6 separate regions of the Homo sapiens genome follow, and regions 1, 2, 3, 4 and 5 are each linked to region 6. Evidence: promoter capture Hi-C in human tissues and cell types (Jung and others, 2019). All regions are on one chromosome and are shown on one strand. The core of a region is centred on a gene start or on the middle of the fragment in contact, and the rest is flanking DNA. Distances in the headings are between cores, read along the strand shown.

Region 1 (4,802 bases), core at 1,981-4,480, 260 kb before region 6:
ACCTAAATGGGCAACAAAAGGGATGTCCAGCAGCCCATAAAATCACAGCATGGTGAAGACAATGTCATATGTTTAGTGAGTGCTTAGTATATGCTAGGCACATGGCTGGGTGTTTCACATGCGTTTTCTAGTTTAATCCTAACCCGCCTGTGAAGTAGGTACTGTTTACTAGCAAGAAAACCGAGGGACAGAGAGGATAAGTAGTCTACCTGATGCCAGGCTTTTAACTGGATATTGGCAATATGTGGTGGCTGACCACTTAGGCTCTGTTGATGGATCTGGGAAATAAATAAGAAAAGCTGAAGAAATGTACAGAAATATGAGGAATGGGAGGTACCTTTGGATAGGAAAGGAGATAAAATCAAACCGGCAATCCTCTTCTGCCTTCTGTGGGATCCCCATGAAGGAGAGACTGGGGTCCTGCCTGAGTCTTCTGGAAACTGAGCAAGTAATCACCCAGGTGTTTTTGATTGGCACCAGCCTGACCTGACCTATCTTCCTGCCCTTCCATCCAACACCTTCAGAATCCACCTCTTCTGATGCTGCCTCCTATAGTTGCTTCCCACCCCCTGCCTCAAGCCTAAGAGAGACAGCCCTGTGGAATGAGGCTTTATAAGTCACAACCTTTACAGCCACCTGTCTTTTCCATTTTTATCTTGGCTGCTGCCACATCTCTTCCCCTCTGGGGAAATCAGGAGCTTCTGTAGCCCAGAGATGGAAAATCATGGGCTTTAGCCTTCCCAGCTGCTTGTCCCTGTAGTGCAGCAAGCTCCAAGAGATGAAATCTGCTTATTGATGCTCCTAGTGACATGAAGGACTCCAGGATGGCCAGCACTCTGGGTCCATTGCCACAAGTGCTGCTTCGTGCCCTGTGATTAGCTCTGGTCCACTGTTTTCCCATTGATCAGGCAGGGTCGAAGCACCTATATGTGTTGGACCCGTATAGCTGTTGGCAGGTGGGGTGCCAGTGATACAGGAGGAACATCGTGCAGGCTCACTTCCACAGGGCGGGTGGTGGGAAGCTTTGGGGGATGACTGGCCAGCTGTAGGGATAGAAGTGAGGGAGGTGAGTGCCTGTGCCTGCTATGAACAGGAGGGCTTCTGGCTGAAGGTAGAGGCTCTCTGCTAGACAAGGCTCTGGCCTCAGTGAAATGGCATGCCAGTTTGGCATGATATATTCCCATGCCCAGATATTCTGAAGGGGACACTGGCTATCTTCTGAATCATAGCTGTTCCCCTGCCCTTCCTTCCACAGCCCCTCCTGGCACTTCTTTTCATGCTTTCAAGCTTCATACCAGGCAGAATTGCCTAACATGAATTGAACACCTTCCCTATGCAAATTAATGAGTCCCTCAAGGGGCTTAACTTATTGGACCACTTAACAGAATACACAAGTATGGAGGAAAGGATTCATTCCAGTGCTGTGACGGCCTAGCAGAGGGAGCAGTTCTTTCTAGCAGATAGGATCAAAAGAGCTACATTATAGTCAAGAGGTATCCAATTTGGTTCAGTGTTGTGGTCTCTAAATAAAGTTAGGGATAGGGTCTCTGGCCAAAAGCGAACCTACTATCTATTATGTCTCAGTTTCTTTGGCAGTGCCAGATGTTCCTGCATACAATGCCCCACAGCCTCTTCCACAATCAGGCTCAGATTGGCAGGACAAACAGATATTGAGCCAGCTCTGCTTGTGTCTCCACAATGAGAGCAAAACCTCCCAGCTGGAGGATGGTAGATGGTGCTCCGAGCCCCTACCTGTGCTGCTGGCTGCCAAGCCCTTGACACCATTGCATGGAGGACTTCATAGTGCTTATTACTTGGCACCACTGATGGCGGAGTGTTAGGTGATGCCTATTCCTTTATCTCTGCCCTGCCCTGAGTTCTTAGAATTTCATCTGAGGCTGAACCCATTAAAGAGCAAGCTTCACAAAGGTCCTGAGGCTTTCTTGTTTCAACCAGATCCTCTTCATCAGGGACATAACTGAATACTGTCACACTTGTGTGACAAATATTATGGCTTGCTTTCTAATGGGATAGACCTCCCCCTCCATCTTTTTGTTTTGTAAACAAAATCAACTTCAAAATAAGCTATTTTCTTTCTTTCTTTCTTTCTTTTGGAGGAGTCTCGCTCTGTCGCCCAGGCTGGGGTGCAGTGGCGCAATCTCCGCTCACTGCAAGCTCTGCCTCCCGGGTTCACGCCATTCTCCTGCCTCAGCCTCCTCAGTAGCTGGGACTACAGGCGCCCACCACCACGCCTGGCTAATTTTTTGTATTTTTCAGTAGAGACACGGTTTCACCGTGTTAGCCAGGATGGTCTCAATCTCCTGACCTTGTGATCCGCCCGCCTCGGCCTCCCAAAGTGCTGGGATTATAGGCGTGAGCCACCGTGCCCGGCCTTTTTTTTTTTTTTTTTTTTGAGACGGAGTCTCGCTCTGTCACCCAGGCTGGAGTGCAGTGGCGCAATCTCAGCTCACTGCTACCTCCAACTCCTGGGTTCAAGCGGTTCTCCTGCCTCAGCCTCCACAGTAGCTGGGATTACAGGTGTGTGCCACCACGCCCAGCTAATTTTTGTATTTTTGGTAGAGACAGGATTTCACCATGTTGGTCAGGCTGGTCTGGAACTCCTGACCTCAGGAGATCCACCTACCTGGGCCTCCCAAAGTGCTGGGATTATAGGCGTGAGCCACCGTGCCCGGCTAAAATAAGCTATTTTCTAAAGCAACCCGACCTGGGTTTTAAAATGCAGCAAAATATGAGATGGGAGGAAGGGGGCTTAGTGCCCAAAGCAGAGCCTTAACAAGCTTCATGTCTGTGGAAGAGATCATTGTCCTATAGGGTGGTGTGTGCTCCAGCCTGACCCAGAAGTGGACTGCATGTAAGAGCCTTGACCCAGAGCATCCATGGACATCTGTTGAGCAGTCCACTAGGAGAGGGAAGCTAAGAGGTTATGCTGAAGGGGACACTGGCTATGGTTATGCTGAAGGGGAAACTGGTTTTTTCCCTGGTTTCAAAATAACAAAGGACTGTCATGGTGGCTCATGCTTGTAATCCCAGCACTTTGGGAGGCTAAGACAGGAGGATCATTTGAGCCCAGGAGTTTGAGACCAGCCTGGGCAACATAGTTTTTTAGTTTTGCTAAGATTCTATCTCTACAAAAAGTTTTTAAAAAAATTTTAAATGAGAACAAAAGATAACATGCAGTGCTTCCATAAAATTTCTATTGGTAATAGTTTTTTTTTTTTTTTTTTTTACTATTTATTCTATAAATGTATTTTTAATCATTTTTAGTCTGTCATCACTTTCAGAGCATTGACAACTCTTAAACTTTTTTTTAGGTGATCGAAGTATGTGATTTGACTAAAGTAAAGTTAAAATATTGGTAAGTTTTCTCCCCTGCTGGTATATGTCACACTTGGTATAGACAGGCCATATCTACTATCTTCATAAGTTAGTAAAGATTCACATCTGTCACAGATGTGAATTATAGCCTGGTGCCATGAATTCCTGAGGCAACCTTCAAGCCTGCTCAGTTTCCTGGAGAAGAGAAGTAAACCTCATTAAGAATATGTGATGTGTTTAACACTTCATGTATATGTCATCTAACTTAATCCACTTGACAAAGCCAGACCTCAGCTCAGAGGTGATGTGACAGTCTCCTGGGTCATAGCTGCCCTCCCGCTGACAGCCTCTCTTGGCACCTCTTTTCATGTTTTCATGAGTAACAGAGGTGGGACAAACCAGATAGGTCTGACTCCAAAGCCTATGCTGAAGAGAATGCCAAAGAGACCACCATTTTAGAGCTATAATGTATTTTTTAGAATTACAGCGGGGATGACATGCACAGTCCAAAGTTGTTGCGCCCCCATTATGGCAAGGCAGCATGCCTGCATCTAAAAATCTAGAATACTCCTTCCTTTCTTTCTTTCTTTCTTTTTTTTTTTTGAGACGGAGTCTCTCTCTGTCACCCAGGCTGGTGTGCAGTGGCGCCATCTCAGCTCACTGTAACCTCCACCTCCTGGGTTCAAGCGATAGAATACTCCTTTCAGTAAGTCTCCTTAACTGGCTTCCCTTTCCCTTTTTGAGGGTGTGAAGAGGACCTGATTCCTGGGGCAGGCTCAGGCAGTTTTGCTGATAGAGGAGTAGACAAGCAAATGTGTGGTACCACTGGCCCCTGCAGGTTCTAGTTGTCTTTTAGTTTTACTGGGGCCTTCATACCTCAGGGTCTGGTGGCTTCTCTTCTCTACCCTTTTCTTAAGAGTCACTGGTGTCATAAAGCCCCAGAGGATCAACTCTGTATATCAGCCTCATGAGAACTGACCTTCTCCTGACCTCATTAATGCTCTTATTTAAAAGTTCTCTAATTAAGCTTTGTATTTTGATATAATTAGAGACTCACCTGCCTGTGTCTTAAAAATAACTCTCCCAGCTACTATCTCACATGATCTGTGGGCCCATCTTGTGAAGCCTAGTATTAAAAAATATTTTTGTTTTTCAGTGGCGTGCATTTTAATTCTCAGGCCATAGCTCCTACCATTGAACAGATTGACCAGTCTTTTGGCGCAACCCATCCTGGAGGTAAGCCAAGTCCATCTGATTCCTCTGGTCATCAGTGGCAGTTCATAGCAATAAACCTGCCCGGTAGTGCCATCCCACCCCACTTCCTGGAGTCAGGCTCCCATAGGATTGTGGGGTTGGTACTTGGGTGTGAAGGAAACATCCTCCCCCTTGTTTTCAACCTAGTAGGCCAGTTTAGAAACAAGCCACAGGGAAGGTGTTGTCAGTCATTACTCCCTGCCAGGCTGGTT
Region 2 (4,361 bases), core at 1,406-3,905, 350 kb before region 6:
GGTTGACCATAAATTATTAGTCTTGAGTGGTCAGATTAATGGTTTTTACATGTATTCTGTGTCTCATAAAGCTTCATTGGGATTTTGAAATAATGATTGGATGTACTTACTTTGCGATCCCAGTTTATGACTTTAAAGATAAGGGGTATGAAAATCATTTCATAAAAGGAAAAAAATGAACTTTACAGTGCTACTGTTCATTTTTTTCTGTGGAAATTGAATATGCTATCTCGTTTTTACCACATTGACCTCAGAAAAAGAGAGGTTAAACTTTTCTATGGTTGTTACATTCTTGTTTATAGCTTATGATTTTAATTGATAGTCAAATACATTAATGTCAGACATCGAGAAGTATTTATTAAGTATATGTCATTAGAGTAGCTACTTTTAAAAATTTTGATAAGTTGTATTTTTTTTCTTTCTGGACTTTATACTTAAAAGTCTTTTAATTTATTTTTATGAGCATAAAATAAAGCAAAATCTAACAAGATTGGATTTAATGAGTGAGGACAGAATTTTATTTTAAATGGCCTTTTCTAATAAAGGTCTATGATTCTGCTTCTTCTGGTACCATTTACGCACTTGCCTGCAGGATCTTTGTCCCAAAATACATATTGTGTTTGTTTATATACCATCCACAATTTGGCAGAGTTTACAGGACTTCTTGATGTTAGCTTTGAGAAATCCCTATTTAAGCTCAAGAAGTTCCTTCTCTGTAGATAGCCCAGTCATTCCAAATAAAAGATCTCTATGGTAAAGCTTTGGAGTGTGATTTTCTTCAAGAGAAATTAGACAACTTTACAAATACCTTGTCACATCTGGATTTTAAGTATTTCAGTTCGACTAAAATATGAATTGACAGCACTTAGTTATTGACAGTTTAGTGTATTGAAATCTGGTTTTTAAAAATATGCTTTAGATAAACTATAATACTCTAATAATAACGGAATCATAAAATTTAGAACTGGTAACTGCAAGCTTATATATATATATATATTTGACACCTTTGTAGCTGGCAGAGCGTTTGTATTTTTAAAGAAAAGTTTTTATTTTAGTTATTTTAGTTATTTTTCAATCTAAGAGAGGAAGTCGACTTTCTGAAAAAATTAAAATGTTTTGGCTAGGTGGGGTGGTTCATGCCTGTAATCCCAGCACTTTGGGAGGCCGAGGCAGGTGGATCACCTGAGGTCAGGAGTTCGAGACCAGACTGGCCAACGTGATGAAACCCCACCTCTACTAAAAATACAAAAAATTAGCCAGGTATGCTGGCATGTGCCTGTAATCCCAGCTACTTGGGAGACTGAGGCAGGAGAATTGCTTGAACCCGGGAGGCGGAGGTTGCAGTGGGCTGAGATTGTACCACAACACTCCAGCCTGGGCAACAGAGCAAGACTCTGTCTGAAAAAAAAAAAATTAAAATGTTTTAAAATTAGTATGTCATAGTACCTTCCAGTTAGAGTACGTGAATCTGCATACATGGTAAATGCACCTCTGAAGCACTTGAAGATTGTGAAGTCCCGTTTTCTCTTCTTTTGGATTGCATTATTTCCATTTTAGTGTAAAGGTGAAATTCTCTTTCATGACCTTTCCTGAATTACATATTCCAAGTGAGAGAAGGCAGAAATAATATGTCTGAGAAGAGCATCCTTCACTCTTCCCCTCCTTCCTTCTACTTTCTACATTTTTTTTTTTTTTTTTGAGACAGTGTCTTGCTCTGTCATCCAGGCTGGAGTGCAGTGATGTAATCTTGGCTCACTGCAACCTCCGCCTCCCAGGTTCAAGCGATTCTCCTGCCTCAGCCTCCCAAGTAGCTGGGATTACAGGCACCCGCCACCACACCTGGCTAATTTTTGTGTTTTTATTGGAGATGGGGTTTCACCATTTTGGCCAGGCTGGTCTCAAACTCCTGACCTCAGGTGATCCGCCTGTCTTGGCCTCCCAAAGTGTTGGGATTATAGGCGCTCTGAGCCACTGTGCCTGGCCTTTTTTGTTGTTGTTTGTTTGTTTTTGAAACTAGATATCTCTCTGTCACCCAGGCTGGAGTGCAGTGGTGTGATCTTGGCTTACTGCAACCTCTGCCTCCTGGGCTCAAGCGATCCTCCCACCTCAGCCTCCCAAGTAGCTGGAACCACAGGCACGCGCCACCATGCCCAGGTAATTTTTTTGTAGATATGGGGGTCTCACCATGTTGCCCAGGCTGGTCTCAAACTCCTGGACTCAAGCAATCCTCTCGCCTTGGCCTCTCAAAGTGCTGGGATTACAGGCATGTACCCATCATTTTTTTTTAATGGTTAATTCAAATGCTGCCAGGATAAAGACTATTGAAATGTTGTTGTCTGAAGATGTTAATTTCTTTGTAGCACTGCTATGCCCTAGTTTTACTATTTCCCATTTTCACTTGTAGTTTTTCAATCAGCATTATTGAGGTATAATTTACATGTAGTACAGTTCACCTATTTTAAGTGTACAAGTCTGTGACAACTGTGTATTCAGTAGTATAACCACCACCAAAGTTCACCATTGCTTCAAAAAGTTCCCTCATGCCCCCTTGCAGGTAGTGTTCTAATTGATGCAGACATACATGCACTGATACTTTTGTGATCCTCATCTTACAGGGAAGAAAACGTTTGTAATTTCTTTTTAACAGCATAAAAATGCTGTTTACCTTCAGGTGCAGAGACTTTGTTTCTTCAATATTATTCTTTGATGCTTAGTTTTGTACAGAGGATTGGAAGCTACAGACAAGCTAAAGTATAATAGTGATATGGTAGACTTTAATTATTGTTCCTTTTTTTATGAAAGTATGCACGTGAACAGTTGGAAAGTATTATCTGTTATAAGCTTTTCAGTTTAAGCTGGGCCTCCTCAAATTGATGTGTGTTTAGGAACTAAGAATTTTAAATAACATTTGAAGGGCCGGGCGCAGTAGCTCATACCTGTAATCCCAGCACTTTAGGAGGCCAAGGCAGGCAGATCACAAGGTCAGGAGTTCAAGACCAGCTTGGCCAACATAGTGAAACCCCGTCTCTACTAAAAAAAAAAAAAAATTAGCCAGGCATAAGCTGAGATCATGCCACTGCACTGTAGCCTGGGCAACACAGCAAGACTCTGTCTCAATAAATAAATACCATTTGAAATGTCTTCAATGCCATGTGTGGAAACTATTTAAAAAAATAAAACGTGCCTCTTGGCAGTATTGCTGTGCTTTCAGGACTCTAATGCAGGCTGTACCTAAGAGGGAAAGGGCTGAGTCTGGGGATGGTTGGCAGGTTGTTTTTGTGGATGAAAAACCTTTTACCCATGTATGCAGTCAGTACTGAGCCTTTTTGTGTTTTAAAACTTCAGATGTAAAGACAGGTTAATCTTCAGATTAAAACAAAAGGATGGCCTAGAAACTTGTGACTTCGACATTTACATTAGAAGAATGTAGATGTTTTCAAATAAACAAATCTGCCCATATCATAGATGTTCAAAGTTTGTTCCATATAATAACAATGATAGTTTCTAATAATCGTGTGGCCCTGTTTGCAGAACAGTGTTCTAAGTAATGAGCCATTTGGGAGAACCCTTTAAATTTTTTTTTTAGGATATTTATTCACACCAGCTTTTTAGTCCTGAGTTTCTATCCATCCCTTTGCTATCCAGAACATTTCTTGGCCATTTTTTTACTGGGTCAGGTGCCGTGGCTCGTGCCTTTGGTCCCAGTGCTCTGGAAGGCCAGGGCGGGTGGATCGCCTGGGGTTAGGAGTTCAAGACTAGCGTGGCCAGCATGGTGAAGCCCCGTCTCTACTAGGAATGCAAAAATTGGCTGGGCATGGTGGTGGGTGCCTCTGGTCCCAGCTGCTCGGGAGGCTAAGGCAGGAGAATCACTTGAACCTGGGAGGCAGAGGGTGCAGTGAGCCAAGATCGCGCCACTGCACTCCAGCCTGGGAACAAAATTCCATCTCAAAAAAAATAAAAATAAAAATGCAGAAATTGGTCAGGCGTGGTGTCGCATGCCTCTGGTTCCAGCTACTTGAGAGAGGCTGGGGTGGGAGAGTTGCTTGGGCCTGGGAGGCAAAGGTTGCAGTGAGCAGAGATCGCACCACGGCACTCCAGCCTGGGTGACAGAGCAAGGCTCCATCTCCAAACAAACAAATAACAAAAAAAACCCCTAAAACATTTTTTATTTTCCTTAAATGTATTGGCCAAGGTTAAAATATCCATCCTGAATATTCTGTATGAAAACATTGGATATGAAGAAAAAAAGAAAATTCAGGCAGTTGACCAGGGGAGAGAATTGAGCTTTTTGGTTCTTCCTGACACATATTCTCAGTGAGACTATACTCACTTTTTTAAAAGCTATTTATAAAATATTAAAA
Region 3 (4,381 bases), core at 1,813-4,312, 300 kb after region 6:
CCTCCCACCTCGGCCACCCAAAGCACTGGGATTATAGGCATGAGACACCACGGCTGGAGAAATTGTTTTCTCAACTTCATTTTCAAGCCCAGCATCTCTTTTGCTCCTACTGTAGACACAAGTGTACTGGACTAAGAAAATGTCTATAGTAGGGGATGGTTTGTCAGCATAGCCCAGTATAACATCCTGTACTGCTCGATTCTATCTGAAGTACACCTGTTCCTTTGTGAACCACTAAATTACACATGACTTGGGCTGCCTCTAACTCCAGATCCCTGCCAATTTCGTGCCTCTTGTCTCCACTCTCTGTGACTGTGAAGCTTGGCTTGCCTCCTGTACTCTCACTGGGGTTGTTTTATTTTAACCAGCTTTCATTCTTTCTGATGGTAAACTGTCTGTGGCCACTCAGTCACCTTGCTTTCCTTTTCTACTTTCTCCATCTCTCTCTTTTTTTTTTTTTTTTTTTTTTTGAGACGGAGTCTCACTCTGTCGCCTAGGCTGGAGCGTAATGGTGCAATCTCGGCTCACTGCAACCTTTGCCGCTCCGGTTCAAGCGATTCTCCTTGCCTCAGCTACTACCTCAGTAGCTGGGGTTACAGGCACACGCCACCATACCCAGCTAATCTTTGTATTTTTAGTAGAGACAAGGTTTTACCATGTTGGCCAGGCTGGTCTCGAACTCCTGACCTCAGGTGATCCACCCGCCTTGACCTCCCAAAGTGCTGGGATTACAGGCATGAGCCACTGAGCCCAGCCACCATCTCTCTCTTTTCTCTTTGCTAATTCTGCCCCTACAGGCTTCTCTACTAGTTTTCTTAGAAAACAGGTCAAGCACACAGTTATCTTCTACAATTTTCATGTCCTGGACTCCCTTCGGCTATTTGGTCACTGTCTGCTTTTACAGGTGTCTTGGTTATTTACAGGTTATGGCTGTTATAGGAGCTTGACAGTGTCAAGCATGCAGCATTAGGTAAGTAGTGAGATTCTACTTAAGTTTTTTTTTTTTTTTTTTGAGACGGAGTCTCATTTCTGTCACCCAGGCTGGAGTGCTGTGGCATGATCTTGGCCCACTGCAACCTCAGCCTCCTGGGTTCAAGCGGTTCTCCTGTCTCAGCCTCCCGAGTAGCTGGGATTACAGGCATGCGCCACCATACCTGGCTAATTTTTGTATTTTTAGTAGAGACAGGGTTTCACTATATTGGCCAGGCTGGTCTCGAACTCCTGACCTCAGGTGATCCTCCTGCCTCGGCCTCCCAAAGTGCTAAGATTACAGGCATAAGCCACTGTGCCCAGCCAAATTTTGTTGGTCATTAATTACTAATTGTTACAGGGCTAAGGGAGTGAGACACAGTCCATGTCTTCTCTAAATTCATGCCCAGGGCACACCTCCTCCACTCTCACACCGTGTTCCTTCTCACCCTAGTTGTATTTGGGTATATATAGGGAATGTATGTATCCACTACATAGGGAACCCTTTTTTTTTTTTTGAGATCGAGTTTCGCTCTTTTTGCCCAGGCTGGAGTGGTGCAATGGCACGATCTCGGCTCACTGCAACCTCCACCTCCCAGGTTCAAGCGATTCTCCTGCCTCAGCCTTCCAAGTAGCTGCGATTACAGGAGCCCGCCACCATGCCTGGCTAATTTTTTGTATTTTTAGTAGAGACGGGGTTTCACCATGTTGGACAGGATGGTCCCGATCTCTTGACCTCGTGATCTGCCCGCCTCAGCCTCCCAAAGTGTTAGGATTACAGGCGTGAGCCACCGCGCCCGGCCGGGAATCTTTTTTTTTTTTTTAAATGATCTATTACGTATCTATGACCAACTTAGATGTCTCCTCTTCAAAAGCTGTGTAGGAATATGAGGATGATAATTTTGAGCCAATATGAAGTGAAAAATATATATAAGTATCGGTAGCTTAAAACAACAGAATGGACTAGAATTTTTTTTCTTTTTTGAGACAGTCTCGCTCCGTCACCCAGGCTGGAGTGCAGTGGCGCGCTCTTGGCTCACTGCAAGCTCTGCCTCCTGGATTCACGCCATTCTCCTGCCTCAGCCTCCCGAGTAGCTGGGACTACAGGCACCCACCACCACACCCGGCTAATTTTTTGTATTTTCAGTAGAGACGGGGTTTCACCATGTTAGCCAGGATGGTCTGGATCTCCTGACCTCGTGATCCGCCTGCCTCAGCCTCCCAAAGTGCCGGGATTATAGGCGTGAGCCACTGCGCCCGGCCGAAAAATTTTTAATAACCTGTTTTACTGCCACTGACTCAAAGGGAAGCTTCATCAACTCCCATAAAGGGGTATTGGCTGGCCCCCGAGGAAGCCAGATGGCATGAAGGCAGGCAGGCTTGCTGACTAGGTATTTCCTGCCCAAGCAGGCAGAGCTGGTTTTCCTTGTTAATTTCAGTGGCTACCCTTTCTCACCCCTAAAATTTCCCCACTCTTTGTCTTTAACATCCTTGCACATATCCTTCAGATGCCTCCAAAGATCTCCACAAACCCAGTCCTGCCAAGACCACATACATTTCCCATCACCACATGCTGGTCAGGAATGAAGTGTGCCTTGGCAGGACAGGCTATATACAATTTGACAAGGCCTTGCCTGGGTTCAAATCCTGGCTCTGTCACTTTCCAGCTGGGTGACCTCAGGTAAGTCCTTTAGTCACTCTGTATCTCCATTTCCTCATCTGTAAAATGGGGAAATTTTATCTACCTCACAGGGGATTTAAGGATTGAGTTAATATTTGTAGAATACTTATAATTGGGCCTGGCCAATTAGATATGAGTCAGTACATAGGGAATCTTTTTCTGAAAAAAAGATATCTGTTAACTATCTGTGACTGACTTAGATGTCTCTTCTTCAAAAGTTGAGTAGAAATATGAGGGTCATAATTCTGAGCTAATATGAAGTGAGTATAATAGGGCAGCCAGTGTTTAGTCTGTCCCTTGTTCCATGCAACCCTGTTGTACAGATAAGAAAACATGCTCAAAGAGGTGAGGTAACTCTCCCAGGGTTCCACGCCTGGCTGTGTGCATGACCTGCTACAACCAGCATGAAACCTTGAGCAGGTTACTTCACTTCTCTGAGCCTCTATAAAAACAAGAAAGAAAAAGAGTCATTTTGTAACATGTGCATGTGTGGAGCAACTCTTCTTCCATCCTTCCTCATGAGTGTGAGCCAGGCAAGTTCCTTCCACTGTCTGCTCTGGGGGTGACTGTTTGCCTCTGATCCACTGTTCAAAACCAATACTAATCTGGTCAATGTCTCACCTTTTCTGAGGAGCTAACGAGGGAGCTGTGGGACATAAAAAGATGAAAAGTCCTAATTTCAGGGGTGACAAGTCAGCAAGGTGAGTAGGAGCCAGAACTGGTGGCGTAAAGTGTTAATCTCAAGAGTTTGGACTTTGACAGGTGGGTGTGCTCAGTATTCTTGGTCTGCTCCTCCTTCCCTACCTGATCCTCTCTGCCCTGCTTTTTGTCTCTGGAGTCAGAAGGTCAGTCTCTAAAGCCCTGGGCTCCAGGTCCTCTGGCTTCCATCTGAGTCCAGCCAAGGGAAAGAACCAGGAAGAGATCAGCGAGCAGGAGGAAAGGCCAAGGTGTTTATTTTTTGCCTTCTCTCCCTCCCAGGATATGGTTCTGGCAGAGCTGTGTTCCTTAACCAAGGTCACAGCTCCTTTAGAGGACCCCTCTCTCCCATGGCCATTGCTTTTGCTGGGTTCCAGTGACACATCCCCACTCCGTCATTGCACCTAGGGTGGGGACACTACCTTGCCAGTCCCTGGGTGCTCCACTATCCCTTGTATGTTTCCTTTACTACTCACACTATTGTGAATAATCCCTTCATTAAAGAGTTTTTAATTAACCCTTTGAGTACACTGACTGTTTCCTGTCTAGACCTTGACTAATGCAGGTAAGCAATAAGAACCATTGGATTTTTTTTCTTTTTCTTTTTCTTTGAGATGGAGTCTTGCTCTGTCACCCAGGCTGGAGTGCAGTGGCGTGATCTTGGCTCATTGCAACCTCTGCTTCCAGGTTCAAGCAAGTCTCCTGCCTCAGCTTCCCGAGCAGCTGGGATTACAGGTGTGCGCCACCATGCCCAGCTAATTTTTGCATTTTTAGTAGACACGGGGTTTCCCCATATTGGCCAGGCTGGTCTCGAACTCCTGACCTCTGGTGATCTGCCCACCTCGGCCTCCCGAAGTGTTGGGATTACAGGCGTGAGCCACTGTGCCCGGCCTGCATTTTTTTTCTTTAATTTGGCAGAAAGACGTAGGTAGGATAGAGTTTAGGAGACATTAGACACAGAGAACCAGTTAGGATATCAAGTAAGACATAAGGAGGGTCTAATGGAGGGAATGAAATGGAGCAGACAGTTATCAC
Region 4 (4,515 bases), core at 1,050-3,549, 360 kb before region 6:
CCATGAGTGGGCCTTAGTAGAGCTGGATCTTAGCAAACCCCCTTAGCAAACACCCATAGCATGGTGTCTGGGCCAACCCATACCCAACTCAACAGCTGCCAAAGCTGTTAGGAGCACAGACTTAAGTGTACCTTACATGGGTGAAAATTTCCTTTATAAATTTCCTTTAATTCTGTTTTTTTAAATAAGTGAAAAAAAATTAACAACCAAAAAGGCATATAGAGGTCAGCCGAGGAGATGGCCTCCTTCAGCCTGTGGCTTATTTCCCGGTCATCCTGGCTGTTGGATGCCAGACTACGACGAGTGTGGGTTACCCTGTGGCCTGGAGTTGCCCAAGGCTGTCTGTGGGGCTGCTGTTCTGGGTCTGCTTGGCAGGCTTTGCTGTCCCTTTCCCTTAGGACATCGTTCCTCCCCTCCTTGAGGCTGACAATGAGAGCGCCCTGCCCTGCTCTGCACTCCCACCCCTCCAGGTCTAGCTCCCTTGACCCTGACCTTTTCCTTGCCTAAGCTCATGGCCATCAAGGCCATTCTAGAGATCTTTCAATTTTTATTTATTCCACATTTCCCATGGCAGAAACAATTATTGCTAGAGTCTTTGGCCAAGATCAACTTGGAGGTCTGTGAGCCCTCCTTGGACCCATTGTGGAGCAAGAGTGCTTCCTCATGGATTTTTTTTCCCCCCGAGACGGAGTTATGCTCTTGTTCCCCAGGCTGGGGTGCAATGGCACGATCTTGGCTCACCGCAACCTCTGCCTCCCAGGTTCAACCAATTCTCCTGCCTCAGCTTCCGAGTAGCTGTTTGAGACGGAGTCTTGCTCTGTGGCCCAGGCTGCAGTGCAGTGGCACCGTCTTGGCTCACTACAACCTCCGCCTCCCAGGTTCAAGCGATTCTCCTGCCTCAGCCTCCCGAGTAGCTGAGACTACAGGCGTGTGCCACCACACCCCGCTAATTTTTGTACTTTAGTAGAGATGGGGTTTTGCCATGTTGACCAGACCGGCCTCGAGCTCCTGATCTCAGGTGATCAGCCTGCCTCGGCCTCCCAAAGTGCTGGGATTAGGCCAGGCGCAGTGGCTCATGCCTGTAATCCCAGTACTTTGGGAGGCCGAGGCGGGCAGATCACCTGAGGTCAGGAGTTCGAGACCAGCCTGACCAACATGGCGAAACCCCGTCTCTACTAAAAATACAAAAAAATTAGCTGGGCGTGGTGGTGGGTGCCTGTAATTCCAAATACTCGGGAGACAGAGGCAGAAGAATCACTTGAACCCAGGAGGCGGAGGTTGCAGTGAGCCGAGATCGCGCCATTGCACTCCAGCCTGGGCGACAGAGCGAGGCTCTGTTTAAAAAAAAAAAAAAAAAAAAAAAAAAAAGAGGGCTGGGATTACGGGTATGAGCTACAGTGCCCGGCCACAGGACTAACTTTGAATCAAACTCTGCCATAAATCCCATGTCAGACTTTCTCCAGTTTGGGCTAAACAACTTCCCTAGAATTTATGGATCTTATTTTTTGCAGCTGATTGCACATTGAGTAAGTATATGGACTGGCAATCGGTTACATTCTTAACTCAGCTTGTTCTTCTTTAGAAACTTAAATTTATTGGGCTCCCACTGTGTGCTAGACCCACATAAAGGTTCTCACGCTAACACTGCAAACCTAGGAGTGTCTGCATTTTGGAAATAAGGAAACTGAGGTTTAGTGGTCCAATTCTTATCTAAGGCCCCAGCCAGCAGGTAGTGTAGCTGAGTGGGATCCCATCTAAGACCCATCTGACTCCAAAAGCCACGACCTTTCCACCATGACTCGGTTGGATTCTTTGGTCCGTTTCCACCTCAGTCTTCAACGTGCAGAGCCTACACCCCTGCCGGTCGGTTTAGGGACGAAAAGTCCCCAAGGACTTAGGTTTCCTCGCGTTCAAGTGACAATCTGGGGTTACTCCGCGCACCTGGGGAACCCAGAAGTTCCAGATGACCGAGGAAGGGCGGTAGAAAAGGCCTGCGCTGGCTACTCCCGTCTGCTAAAGGCCAGGCGGATCCCCCAACGACAGCTCCACGCCGAGTGGCCGCGGGCGAGCAGGGGGAAAAGGGCCCTGATGCGGAAGGAGCCCCGGGGCGCCACAGCCAGGCCGCTCCGCCAGCGGGCGGGTGGCGCATGCGCGGCGTGGGCCGCGGAGTTGTGAATGGTGCGTCTTGTTTGCCGGAGTTGGAGGCGGGCGGGCGCGCGAGGAGGAGGGGTGGGGCCGGCGGGGGCGGGGTGGGCGGTGAGAGGAAGTGGCGGCGGCGGCGGCGGCGGCGGCCGGGGGCGGTGAGCGCTGGGGCTGCGCGGGCGGCAGGCAACGGCTGAGGCGGCGGCGGCGGCGGCGGCGGCGTGGGTTGGGCTCGAGCGGGCGGCGGCGCCTCAGACTCCCCGGAACGGGAGCCCACGCGGGCGGGCGCCTGAAACAAAGGGAAGCGGGCGTCCGGGCGCCGCGGGTGGGCGGTCAGTCGGTCAGCGCGGAGCCAGCCAGCGGGTGCCCGCGCAAGCCCCGAGCGCGGCCGGCCGGCGCGGCCTCAGGGCGGGAAGATGCCGCGCGTCGTGCCCGACCAGAGAAGCAAGTTCGAGAACGAGGAGTTTTTTAGGAAGCTGAGCCGCGAGTGTGAGGTGAGGCAGGCGGGCGGGCGGCTAGGAGGCCGCAGCGCGCCCCGAGTGGGCCCGGGCGGAGAAAAGTTTGGGCGGCACGGTCCCCGGGAGTCCCGGTCGGTGCGCCCGCGGAGGGGCAATCTCGCCGGGGCGGCCATCGCCCGCAGCCTCTGCTTGCCCTTATCGGCGCTGCGCTGGGAGGGCGGGCGCGCGGGCGGCGCCGCGGATTTGGCTCCTGATTTCGGGCCGTCTTGCCTTGCAGATTAAGTACACGGGCTTCAGGGACCGGCCCCACGAGGAACGCCAGGCACGCTTCCAGAACGCCTGCCGCGACGGCCGCTCGGAAATCGTAAGTCGGCTGGCCCGGGGCGCGCGCGGGTCACTTGTTGCGCGGGGCCGCGGCGGCCCAGGCCGGTTCCGGACGGCGGCGCGGCTGCTGCGGCTCCCGGAACTGAGTGGGCGCCGTCTCACTTCCTACTCGGGATTCAAAATGCGAAACCAGATGCCGCGGGCCGGTACTCGCGGGGAGACGCTTTTCCTGGGGCTCGCCGCGGTGGCGCGTGTCGGCCAACGGAGCACCGCGAGTGGAGCTCGAACCCGAGCCAGACTAAACAAGCGAAGGGCATTGTTTAGGCGGCGACACCGAAGAAGGGTTCAGGGTATTTGTAGCAAGCAAACCCCCATTCGGAAAAAGAAGTGGAGCTTCATTCAAGGTCGGCGATAGTTTGTTTCTTAGAAGGTAGATCTGTCGGTAATTCTCTGTGTCAAGCGGTCTCACTACCAGATCGCCGAGTAGAAATCTTTCCTCCAGTTATTTATTCTAATAGAGAGGGGAGGGGGGGGAAAAGGCCCTAAAAATGTCATTTTCTTAGAATGTTAAGCTTCAGGAGAATCAGAAAGAAACCATTATCCCCATGTCCTGAGTAGGGCTGCTGTTCCTAAAAACTGCACAGATGGGCAAAACCCACGGTTGATCTCGAGGTCCTTGTTTTAGGAGGCAGATTTAGTGCGTCTTCACCAGACCTTGGGTTGAAAAAAAAAATCCAAGGGTCCTAGTTCCTCTCATCTTTTTGGTTTGCCTTGTTGGAGGTGCTGATGAGGAGGGAGTGGTAGGAAGAAACCAAGAAAAGAGGTTGATTATTACTATTTTTTTGAGGTAGAGTCTTGCTCTGTTGCCCAGGCTGGAGTACAGTGGCTCGATCTCGGGTCACTGCAACCTTCGCCTCCTGGGTTCAAGCGATTTTCCTGCCTCAGCCTCCTGAGTAGCTAGGATTACAGGTGCCTGCCACCACGCCCGGCTAATTTTTGCATTTTTAGTAGAGACGGGGTTTCACCTTGTTGGCCAAGCTGGCCTCCTGACCTCAAGTGATCCGCCCTCCTCGACCTCCCAGAGTGCTGGGATTACAGGCGTGAGCCACTGCGTCTGGCCTGATTATTTTTTAAAAAGTTGAAGCACTGTCTAATGGAATGCTGTTACTCTCTGCTCGGTGACTTGGACTCACTGCATTGTTAGAGGCTTGAAGCTAGGTGCGATTTGAATTTGGGTTAACAGTAGGAAGACATTGGAAATTTACTTCTCCCACCCCCTTTATAAAACCAGTTTATTTTTATTCAGATATAATTCATATGTCATAAAATTCTCCCTTTACATCACTGAACTCAAATTTATTTTTAAAGAATATTTTGATATTTTAAGTGAAAGCTTTTTAGAGTTGTAATAGTGAGAAGATACTGGTTAAATTTATCAGGAGCTCCTGAATATTTGGTCATTAGTGCATGTTATGAAAGAGAGTCTCAAGCTTTTAGCCCACTTGCAAATTTCTTGAGTAATTGTAGTATTTATATGATTGAAGTGCATAAGACATACTTTTAGGTTTTGGCACTGAGTGGTATAATAAAA
Region 5 (4,900 bases), core at 1,960-4,459, 290 kb before region 6:
AGTTTACAGTTATTAAAGTTGCAGTATCCTTTTAAATGCTAGTAATCAGCACTCTTTCTTTTTTTTTTTTTTAATAGAGACAGGGTCTCGCAGTGTTGCCCAGGCTGGTCTCGAACTCCTGGCATCAAGCGATCCTCCTGCCTTAGCCTCCCAGAGTACTGGGATTACAGGCTCTTTCTTTTTAAACATAAAAGTTTTAAATTGGTATTAACTCTGTACTCTGCCCTAGATTGTTTTAGCTTCTGTTCTGTAATCATGAGTTTGGTTGGAGATATTCTCCATAGATGATCTTCTACTGAAATGCCTAAAGAAGTCACAGGCTGGCTTCTGTTTTATTCAGGGATTTTTTTAAAAAGTCAATCAGAAAAGGGATACTGGAGCTTCTTCATGTATGTAACAGCATATTAAACTGGAGACAGTGATGAATCAGCTACAAAGGTAATATTGTATTAAAATCATGTTTAAGATAGCTGCTTTTATGTGTATTTTATATTGCATGCTTTTGTAAAAACATGCTGGGTGATGAAAGATTAGTTTTAGAGAGAAAATGTTCATCTGTGCAGAGGATGCATTTTCTTCCATTAATTCTGGAAAAAACGTTCACAGTTATATATATGGTATTTTGCAAAAGGACTATTAATAGAACCTTTTGAGATGAATTAATGTAAGAATATTTTTTAAATAGGCTTACTGTCAAATTGCAACTTTTTTTTTAGATACAGAGTGGAAAACAGTGCTAAGTCATTTGGCACCTCCTTACAAATATTTTTCATGGTCACATTTATTAAATGTTACTACATTTCTGAATTTTTGAAAAATGTATTTTATCATTAAATGGCATTATTTTAAAGGGTGAAAAACTGACACAGTCAATTCAGAAAATGGACTGAAGTCTGAATAAGGTCATTGCATTTAAAAAGCATATAACTGTACTTGACTGATGAGGGAGGTGTTACTTTCATTGTATATAGGTCTTATTTCATAAACAGATATCCTGTATCAAATAAAAGTATTTGTTATATATTTGAAGTTATGCATGGAAAGGAGTGTGTTTAAATTGTTACAAACAATAATGCGTCATTAAAGGCCATGCTGATCTTGCATAACTATAAGTACTATGAATGAATTTGGTTGGTTTTGGTGTTGTACAGCTCACATGTTTACACACTCAGTGCCCTAATTTCCCCTGAGGGAATCGCTTTTTAAGTGATCCTTACAGTGGTGTTTTATGTTACTTTATTACAGAGCTCCTTGGTTTTTTACTTCTGCACTTAAATTTTTTTAAATAACATGATGATGGTACATTTTCCTCTATTGTCTAGCTAAGGGCTTTCGGTCCACCAGTAAATAAGATCAAATGCTCTTAAATGTTCCTGTTACCATCCTAATGTAAATACTGGATTTTTCTGTCATTTAGCACCATGCTGCTTCTGTCTGTCTTAATGCTGGCATTAAGATCATGAGCCCTTTTTCTCCAGTAGTACAGGCTTTGAAAACTACTTCTATTAAGTTATTGATGCAATTTGATATTTTTTCATAATCTATATTTAAACAAAATTACATCATTGCATCATCTTTTCTAAATTCATCTCCATTAAAACTTGCCTTAAGCTACCAGATTGCTTTTGCCACCATTGGCCATACTGTGTGTTTGTTTGTTTAATTTACTTTCACAATAAACTTCTGTGTAGTAAAAACAGGGTCTTGGCTCTTTCTTGACCTAACCCAGTAATTTCTAAGAAAGCAACAACAGTGGCATCTAGTGGTAATTTCTGTTGATTCCAAAGAAGACTACTTTAAATATAGGTATCACAAGGTATACAAATCCCCCAGTGTATATTATGGTTTTCAAGAAATCTGGCTTGATTTACCCATCCTGTGAGATATGACCATAAAGTAGTGATGTTGGGAGAAAGAATTTTAAATTACACATCCAAATTAGTTCCATCTTTCAAGCTAGTTGTTTTGGAAATATACAGCCGTTTTGATTGTGCTGGTGTTATATCAAACATTCTTAAGACTCCTGGCATTTTCCTACAACAGAAAAGTAAGCCCTTTTCCTTGAAAGTATGCCTTAAGCTTGACACATGATAAACAGATTCACTCATTAACCACAAGACTTACTGCAAATGACAAAAATGCCTTTAAATTCTGAATTGACACCATTAAGGGAAATTCCAAAGAGTAGGATTCATGCTCTGAGAGTTAATTTCAAAAAATTGAGCAGTAACAGCATGGTTTTAGTAAGTATATCACTTCTAGAAACATAATTGGATATGCTAGCTCGGGGCTGCTTGGTGAAAAATATCTTACTTGATTTATGCCTCATTTGGCAATGAGGAGCTTTTCAATCTATAAACCATTGTATTATCCATAACACATTACCCCAAAACTTAGCAGCTTAAAACAATAAATACGTATTATCCCACAGGTGAGTCACAAATCTGGAAGTAGCTAAGATCAATGGTTCTGGTTCAGAGTTCCTCATAAGGTTAGAGTCATCCTGGGCTACAGTCATCTCAAGGATTGACTGGATGAAAGATCCCCTTTCAAACCCACTAATGTGGTCACTGACTGGCCTCGGTTCTTTGCAGCTTGCTAGATGAAAGGCAGATGTTCCTTGCTAGATGTTGGACAGAGACCTGCTTCCATTTCATGCCCAGCTGGGTCTTTCCATAGGACAGTGCACAGCAGGGTAGCTGGCTTCCCCCAAGGCAAGTGATCCAAGAGAGCGCACACCCAAGTTGAAAGCACAGTCTTTTTTTTTTTTTTTTTTTTTTTTTTTTTGAGATGGAGTCTCGCTCTGTTGCCTAGACTGACTGGACTGCAGTGCTGCAATCTCAGCTCACTGCAACCTCCCCCTCCCGGGTTCAAGCGATTCTCCTGCCTCAGCCTCCCACGTAGCTGGGATTACAGGTGCCCATCAACATGCCCGGCTAATTTTTGTATTTTTCATAGAGACGGGGTTTCACCATGTTGGCCAGGCTGGTCTCAAATTCCTGACCTCAAGTGATTCGTCCGCCTCGGCATCCCAAAGTGCTGAGATTACAGGTGTGAGCCACCATGCCCAGCCAAAAGCACAGTCTTAGAACTGAATCTTGGGCTGCCATATTGTATGTTAGAATCAAGTCACTGGGTCTGGTCCACACTCAAAGGGGGAGGAATATTAAGCTTCATCTGTTGAAGGCGGGGATGTCAAAGCATTTGTGGACATCTTTCTAAACCACCATGGTGATATTACCAAATATACGTAACTGAGTATAAGATACCTTTGGTGTTTTGCCGGGCGCGGTGGCTCACACCTGTAATCCCAGCACTTTGGGAGGCCGAGGCAGGCAGATCATGAGGTCAGGAGATCGAGACCATCCTGGTTAACGGTGAAACCCCGTCTCTACTAAAAATACAAAAAATTAGACGGGTGTGGTGGCGGGCGCCTGTAGTCCCAGCTACTCGGGAGGCTGAGGCAGGAGAATGGTGCGAACCCAGGAGGTGGAGCTTGCAGTGAGCCAAGATCGCACCACTGCACTCCAGCCTGGGCAACAGGGCGAGACTCCATCTCAAAAAAAAAAGATACCTTTGGTGTTTTAATCTAAACATTCTTTAAAGGTAAGATTTCAGTCTTGCAGATTTGAATACATGATTCCCCCTAGATAGCATCAACCCCTTTTCTTGCATCACCATCATATATTCATATATGGCATTTCAGAAATGTTCCAAAGCTAAAAAATGACAGTCACAGGGTGAAATCATGGATGGAAATGGCAGTTTAGTTTGTTTAAATATGGAATATTCTGAAACAGATAAGTCACTGTTTTAGTCAACTCCCAGCTTTTGGTTAGAAAATTTAAGCAACTTAGAATTAAGGTCGTTATTGGCCTCATTCAGATTTCAGAAATGTTGAGGAGATGTTGTAGATAAAAATAAAAGGCCAGGCACAGTAGCTCATATCTGTAATCCCAGCACTTTGGGGGGCTGAGGCAGGAGGATTGCTTGAGGCCAGGAGCTCAAGACCAGCCTGGGCAAGATAGCAAGACCTTCATCTGCACAAAAATATTTTTCTTAATTAGCCAGGCATGGTGGTGCACACCTCTAAGTCCCAGCTACTTGGGAGGCTGGAGTGGGAAGATCGCATGAGCCGAGGATTTTGAGGTTGCAGTGAGCTATGATCTTGCCACCGCACTCCATCCTGGGCCACCAGAGCAAGATATTACCTATAAAAATAAAAATGGAAAATGTTGAAGTTCTATTTTTTTTTTGGAGACTAAAAGTATGGTTATCATTTAGGGGGGGAAATATCCAGTGTCCAAAATAAACATGTTCCCTGCTCACAAGGAATCTACAGTCTAGCTAAAAAGCTGACCAAAGGCAGTAACACTGTTTAAGTTACATTAGAAGTACTGGCTCTTATAGTACATCTATTCTAGTCTGGGTGGTGAATAAAAGCTTCCCTAAAGAGATGTTTTGAGGGTGGGTGCGGTGGCTCACGCCTGTAATCCCAGCACTTTGGGAGGCCGAGGCGGGTGGATCACAAGGTCAGGAGATCAAGACCATCCTGGCTAACATGGTGAAACCCCGTCTCTACTAAAAAATACAAAAAATTAGCTGGGCGTGGTGGCGGGCGCCTGTAGTCCCAGCTACTTGGGAGGCTGAGGCAAGAGAATGGCATGCACCCAGCAGGCGGAGCTTGCAGCGAGCCGAGATTGCACCACTGCACTCCAGCCTGGGCGAAAGAGTGAAACTCCGTCTCAAAAATAAAAAAAGAGATGTTTGAGCTAAGATCTGAAGGATGGCAGACCTTAAGCTAGCTAGAGAAGGTATTGCAGGTAGCTAGCCAATAGCTTGGCAAGTTTGAGAAGCTAAGAGCAGCTGAGTATGACTGGAACAGAAAAGAGGGGGCTGC
Region 6 (5,010 bases), core at 196-2,695:
ACACACTTCATCATGTCTACACCTCAGACCTCCCCTGGCCACGCCCTGAACTTGGCCACACCAGCCCACATTCCCAGCGACCCTGTGCACTCAGCCCTGGCCTGCCACCCCCTGGGCCTTGTACCCCTGGCCATACCTTCAGCCCTCCATCCTCCATCTTCACACCCACAGCCACAGCCCTCGGCCACCAGCCCCCACATATATACTAACAAGCCTGCGCCAACCCCAGTAATACCCACAGTCCAGCACTAAAGTGCCCCCCACACCCACAGCCCTCCGCTGCAGACCCCTGGCCACACCCTGAGCCTACACAGCAGCCTTCTCCATCCCCACACCCGCAGCCCTGGGGCTGAGGCCCCTGGCCACAAACCTGCATCCCTTCCTGAGACCCCTGACCATAGCCTCAGCCACTCACCCCCTCCAATACCCGCAGCCCTTTATCAAGGCGCCCTGACCCTCAGCACCCCTTTGTCCACACACCCTCAGCCCTCTGGCCACACCCTCAGCCTGCACTGAAGGCCCCAGTCCACATCCACACACTAACATTATAAGACTCCCAGGTACTATGCGGAGATCCCCTGCGTAGAGACCTCCCCACCACATCCCCCTCCTCCACTGCCACCTCCTGACCACACCCTCGGTCTCAGCAACCATCTTCTAGCTCTGCCTTTTACACTAGGGCTTCCAGTGACCACGGCCTGGGCTCTGCCCGGCTGCCCCATCTTCCACCAAAAACTCCTCGCCAGTGACCACACTCCCATCCCTAAGTGGCAGTTTCTGGGACTGTGAGCACCGGTGGTTCCTACGTTACAGGGACCATAACCCCAGTCCACGCTGCACTCCCCTTCCCTTTCCCTGGGTGCAACCTCCCACCAGGGACCCCAAGACCCGCACTTGGTTCACCAAGGGTAACGTCCAGGGGAGCTTGGATGCCACAGGGTGCTTGGCCCAAGCACTGGGCGGATCCTGCGTGCAGTGCTCACTCCTGTCCGTGGAAAGATGGATTCTTGGTCATCTCAGCGCGGTCAGGTGGCGCTGGGTTGCAGGCCGCAGCCCCATGGGTCTGCAGGCCATGGATGGAGTGGCCACACCCGTGAACTGGAGCCACCCGTCCCGCTCCCACTGGGACAGCTGGAGTCATCAATCAGCCGGACCAGGAGGTGGGGGCTGCGAGGTGGAATGCTTGGGGCCAGGGCAGGGCCGCTCAGCTGGCTCCTCGGCTGGGACCGCCGGAGGTTGGGACCCTTTCCAGGCTGCTCCCCCCAACCCTCATCGTGCAGGATACTGATTGGGGTGGCGGGCATCTGGGTCTCCTATGGGCTTCTACCTCGCGGCTGCTCCTGAAGTGTGCGTTCGGAAGGACAGAACGACGCAGGAATGGACCGATGGACGCGGGAGACCAGGCGGCTCCGCAGCTCCGCTCCCTGCCGGCTCCCGGGTGGGACTGCAGCCCAGGCGGCTCCGCCGTATTATCCCCTGTTTCTCGGTCTCCATAGAGACGGCGAGTCCCACCCCCGAGGCTGTCTCGGCGGGAGAGTGACCAAGGTCACGCCGGCCCCGCCCACGAGGCCCCGCCCTCCCCGAGACTCTCCGGGAGCCGCATCCCGCCCCTCCCCCGCAACTCCGCGGTCCTCGCGACGGCGAGACCAGCGCTCTGCAGTTCGGGGCGTCTTCGGACGGCCCCCTGAGGAAACAGCCTCCCATCCTGGGATGTGCCTAAAGCTCTAAGCGGCCCCAATCTCCAGAAGAGATCCAGCTCCCCAGAGAGTCAACCAGAGGCCACTGGGGAGCTGCGCGGGGCATTGGTGGGGCTTGGGGAATCGGGAAGGAGCTCTCCCTCAGTGACAGGGGTATACGGTTGACTCAAGAGCACTGCCATCCACTGAACGGATGGCACCCCCAGGCCACAACTCCCGTGCTCTCTTGGGTAGGATTCAGAGCCTGGAGCAGTGGGGAAGAAGGGAGGGGACTCCCTACGAGCGAATCGCGCTCGCCCAGCCCCAGGATGCTGGCATTCGACGGCAGCCCTGCTGCCGGGGAAAAGCTGCGGGACCTCCTGGCTCGGCCCCCTCCTTTCGCCGCCACCTCCCCACGGCCTCGCAGCCTCAGCGCCCACTGCTGCTTTCGGAGCCCAAAGCCTGCTTTCTCTCGGCCTCCCAGTGCAAAGCCCATCTTTAAGAAAAATAACCTCCTCCAGGCCGCCTTCTAAGGCCTTTCCTAACCACGAGCCGCACGTGAGCACCTCCACAGGGCAGCCTGGGTGGCTACCTACTATACAGGGACCTCCTCCCCGCCCCCGGTCCACTGGCCAGGGTCGGGCTTCTGGATGGCCCGTGGCCCCTGCCATTAAGAAAGTAAGCGCGACGTCCGCAAAAGCATAAAAAAGTTTATTGGAGCATCACAGCCGGTGGGGCGGGTATTGCTGAGTCGTGGGGGAGGGAGGCCGATCCCGCCGGCCGTAGGGGCCCCTAAAGTGCACTCGGTGCGGCAAGGATGGGGTGTTGCATAGAGAGTCAGGCCGGCCGCTCTAACTCGGCCCTCCGGCCTCTCGGCCCAGCTAAGCCAGACCAGCCTCCCGGCCGCCCGGCGCCCTGGGCTCGCCGCTGCTCGGGCTCACGAAAACGGCGGGCGCACGCGCCTGCCGCGCCAGCGTGGGCTGTCGGCCCCGGCCCCGCGGGGCGGCCAGAGCGGCGCTGCCCAGGCGCGTCTGCGCCACTGGAATCTCGTCCACGGACTCTGCCGACGCCGAGTGGTAGGCGCCGGCAGGGCCAGCGGCGTGCACAGGGCTGGCGTCCGCGGAATCCGTCGACGAGCTGGAGCGGCGGCTGGGGGCCCTAGGCCCTGCGCAAGGGAAGGGAACATGAGCCCAGTGGCTGCGGCTCGCTTGTGGCTCTGCCTTCCCCTCCCTCGAGTTCCCAGAGCAGGACCCGGACAGGGAGAGGCGCTCACCCGACGCCGGATCCGAGGTCTCAGACGTTCGCACTTTATACACGCGCCTCTTCCTCTTTTTCTGCAGAGACACGGGGGAGCCTGAGGGCCCCACATCGCCAAAAGAAGCAGAGGCGAGCGCCAGGGTAGAGGCTTCTTTCTATCCCACTCCACCTGGACCGGAGGCCCAGCACAGTCCCTCCTACCTGGGGTCGGATCCGGGGAGGCAGGGCGAGAGTGTCTGGGGAAGAGGGTGGTGGAGGTTCCGCTTGGCCACGGGTGGCAAGAAACTGGGAGGGACTGAGGGGGAAGCAGGAGGGTAAGCCTGGGGCCTGTTCCCCAAATCCCTCCCCACTGGAGGTGCTGAGAGAAGCTTCCCTTCCTGTTAGCTCAGAGAAGGGCCTGACCCATGCCCCGACCTTAGCCTACCCCCTTCTCCTGCCTCGATGGCCCTGCCATGCTAACTGGAGATGCCCAGTGGCACATGCCCAGGTTGCACTCACTTGGCATTCACTGCTGCTGGCCCGGCCTGGCCAGGGGGCTCTGGGCGCATATGTCTGAAGGTCCGCATGTAGAACTCCATCTCCTGGGGAAGGTGGAAGTCAAGGAGGCTGGGAGGCCAGGTGTGGCTCCCGAGCCTGCTGAGCCCTAAGCCCACGCAGTCCTGCCCTCATTGGCCTCTGTGGGATATCTCAGGCCTCATGCCAGGCTCCCAGCCATGCTGGGAAAACCCCATCTGTAGGGTAAGGCTTAAAACACCCATTTCTGGCCCTTGCCCCATCCCCAGGTCCTTACCTCATCTATTCAGCCTCTGCCTCCTGCAGGAAGGCTCCCAGCCCCCATGGGTCTATAGGCCCAGTTTAGAGAGGCTCAGCCAGGGAGTGGTGGGAAGCTCAGAGCTGCCCGCACCTGCTCCTGGTGTCCCCAGGGATCCAGCCTCTGAACCAATTGTTTTCCCCTGGCTGAGAAACAGGCCTGAGTGTGCATCCACCAGCTCCCGCAGAGCTGAGTCCTGGGCACACCCCTCGCCCTCACAGAGGACCAGCCACGATCCAGGCTGCCGAGAAGGGGCTGCGTAAATGCACATGCGGTGGTCTCCCTGCCACTACACCAAAAGGGAAGGTAGCAGGTGGTGGAACAAACAGAGCCGCAGCCCCACTGAGCACCAGGCTTATGGGCAAGCCCTGATCTTCACAGCAACCCTGAGGGTGCAGACGCGACCCCTGAGAGCAAAGGGGCCTTGAGGCCAGGGGGTTGCAGGAGTGGCCTAGTCCTGCACCCCCGCCCGCAGGACTCGCCCCAGCTTTGCCCAGAAGGACTCCAGGTGAGGAAACAAAAGCCTGGGGAAAGCAGGCCCGGGAAGGGCGTGGTGCGAGATGGGGGCGGGTCCCGGGCGGGGTGGGAGCCGGGAGGGGTTGCCGGGAGCACCCGGACAGCTGTCGCCAGTTCAGCAGCCGTTTCCATGGAGACGGAGGCGTCCTGACTAATGCAGAGAGGACACTGTAACAGCAAGGCCGTCTCTAAAACAAGCCTATGTTTGGGGGCAACGGCTCCAGAGAGGGGCCCCTCCCGCATTCCTGCTGGGGTGGGGGTGGGTGGCTGCCTGCAGGGCCCTGACAGATCTGGGGGAGGAGCCCAGCCAGCGGCCCCGCCCAACCTCTGCCCTGGCTGCTGCTCTGGAGAGGGGTGTGGGGGCGCCAGCCTGGGCCGAGGAGCGCGGGGTCAGGGGTCAGAGGCCAGTCACAGGGACTGGAAACCTCAAGATCACTCTCCCCCACACCTCTTTTCTGCCCCAGTGTGGACTCAGTGACCCTCTAGGGCCAGCAGAGGGGCAAAGCCCACTGGGGGGCCCTGGGCTCCAGAGGGGGGAGCAGAGGAGGGGCCAGCAGTAGAGGAGGTCTCAGAAGCTGAGGGGCCTGGATGGGAAAGGCGCCAGGCCCTAGCCAGCTCAAGAAGTCTGAAAGCGTCCCCAGTGAGTCCCCACTCAGAGCCCTGTCCTCTCTCGCCATGGCTGTCCAGAGGATACTGTCTCAGAGACCTTCAAAACCGTGTACATTCCTGAATGGTACTGGGCCCTCAGCC

Evidence for each region. The method cuts DNA at HindIII sites, captures the fragments that hold promoters and counts their contacts. A contact is called where the count stands out against the background at its distance.
Region 1: a fragment that was not itself captured here is called in contact with the fragment with the promoter of TPPP3 in region 6 in 1 of the 25 tissues and cell types used here (dorsolateral prefrontal cortex).
Region 2: a fragment that was not itself captured here is called in contact with the fragment with the promoter of TPPP3 in region 6 in 4 of the 25 tissues and cell types used here (IMR-90 fibroblasts, dorsolateral prefrontal cortex, liver and 1 more).
Region 3: a fragment that was not itself captured here is called in contact with the fragment with the promoter of TPPP3 in region 6 in 1 of the 25 tissues and cell types used here (pancreas).
Region 4: a contact is called between the fragment with the promoter of CBFB here and the fragment with the promoter of TPPP3 in region 6, in 1 of the 25 tissues and cell types used here (adrenal gland).
Region 5: a contact is called between a fragment that was not itself captured here and the fragment with the promoter of TPPP3 in region 6, in 1 of the 25 tissues and cell types used here (small bowel).

Annotation. Positions count from the first base shown.
Region 1 is chr16:67,127,954-67,132,755 of GRCh38, forward strand. PHAF1 (phagophore assembly factor 1) reads left to right here. Exons shown (of 16, transcript NM_025187.5): 4 at 3,333-3,376; 5 at 4,493-4,572. Among named protein-coding and RNA genes, the nearest start is that of PHAF1, 20 kb to the left of the region's middle. The HindIII fragment of the contact is 3,254 bases long and covers 1,604-4,802 here.
Region 2 is chr16:67,044,116-67,048,476 of GRCh38, forward strand. The region is part of intron 3 of CBFB (core-binding factor subunit beta); the gene reads left to right. Among named protein-coding and RNA genes, the nearest start is that of CBFB, 17 kb to the left of the region's middle. The HindIII fragment of the contact is 7,078 bases long and covers 1-4,361 here.
Region 3 is chr16:67,694,541-67,698,921 of GRCh38, forward strand. The region is part of intron 1 of GFOD2 (Gfo/Idh/MocA-like oxidoreductase domain containing 2); the gene reads right to left. Among named protein-coding and RNA genes, the nearest start is that of GFOD2, 23 kb to the right of the region's middle. The HindIII fragment of the contact is 7,245 bases long and covers 1-4,381 here.
Region 4 is chr16:67,026,850-67,031,364 of GRCh38, forward strand. CBFB (core-binding factor subunit beta) reads left to right here and starts at 2,300. Exons shown (of 6, transcript NM_022845.3): 1 at 2,300-2,636; 2 at 2,878-2,964. The coding sequence starts at 2,559. RefSeq lists an enhancer at 1,563-1,702 and silencers at 2,263-2,452, 2,543-2,782, 3,033-3,082. The HindIII fragment of the contact is 10,821 bases long and covers 1-3,906 here.
Region 5 is chr16:67,099,362-67,104,261 of GRCh38, forward strand. CBFB (core-binding factor subunit beta) reads left to right here. Exons shown (of 6, transcript NM_022845.3): 6 at 1-1,697. Among named protein-coding and RNA genes, the nearest start is that of PHAF1, 8.1 kb to the right of the region's middle. The HindIII fragment of the contact is 4,683 bases long and covers 869-4,900 here.
Region 6 is chr16:67,392,053-67,397,062 of GRCh38, forward strand. It overlaps TPPP3 (tubulin polymerization promoting protein family member 3), which reads right to left and starts at 1,446. Exons shown (of 4, transcript NM_015964.4): 1 at 1,328-1,446. ZDHHC1 (zDHHC palmitoyltransferase 1) reads right to left here. Exons shown (of 12, transcript NM_001323627.2): 9 at 3,432-3,514; 10 at 3,135-3,228; 11 at 2,950-3,010; 12 at 2,100-2,841. The coding sequence ends at 2,558. The HindIII fragment of the contact is 12,612 bases long and covers 1-5,010 here.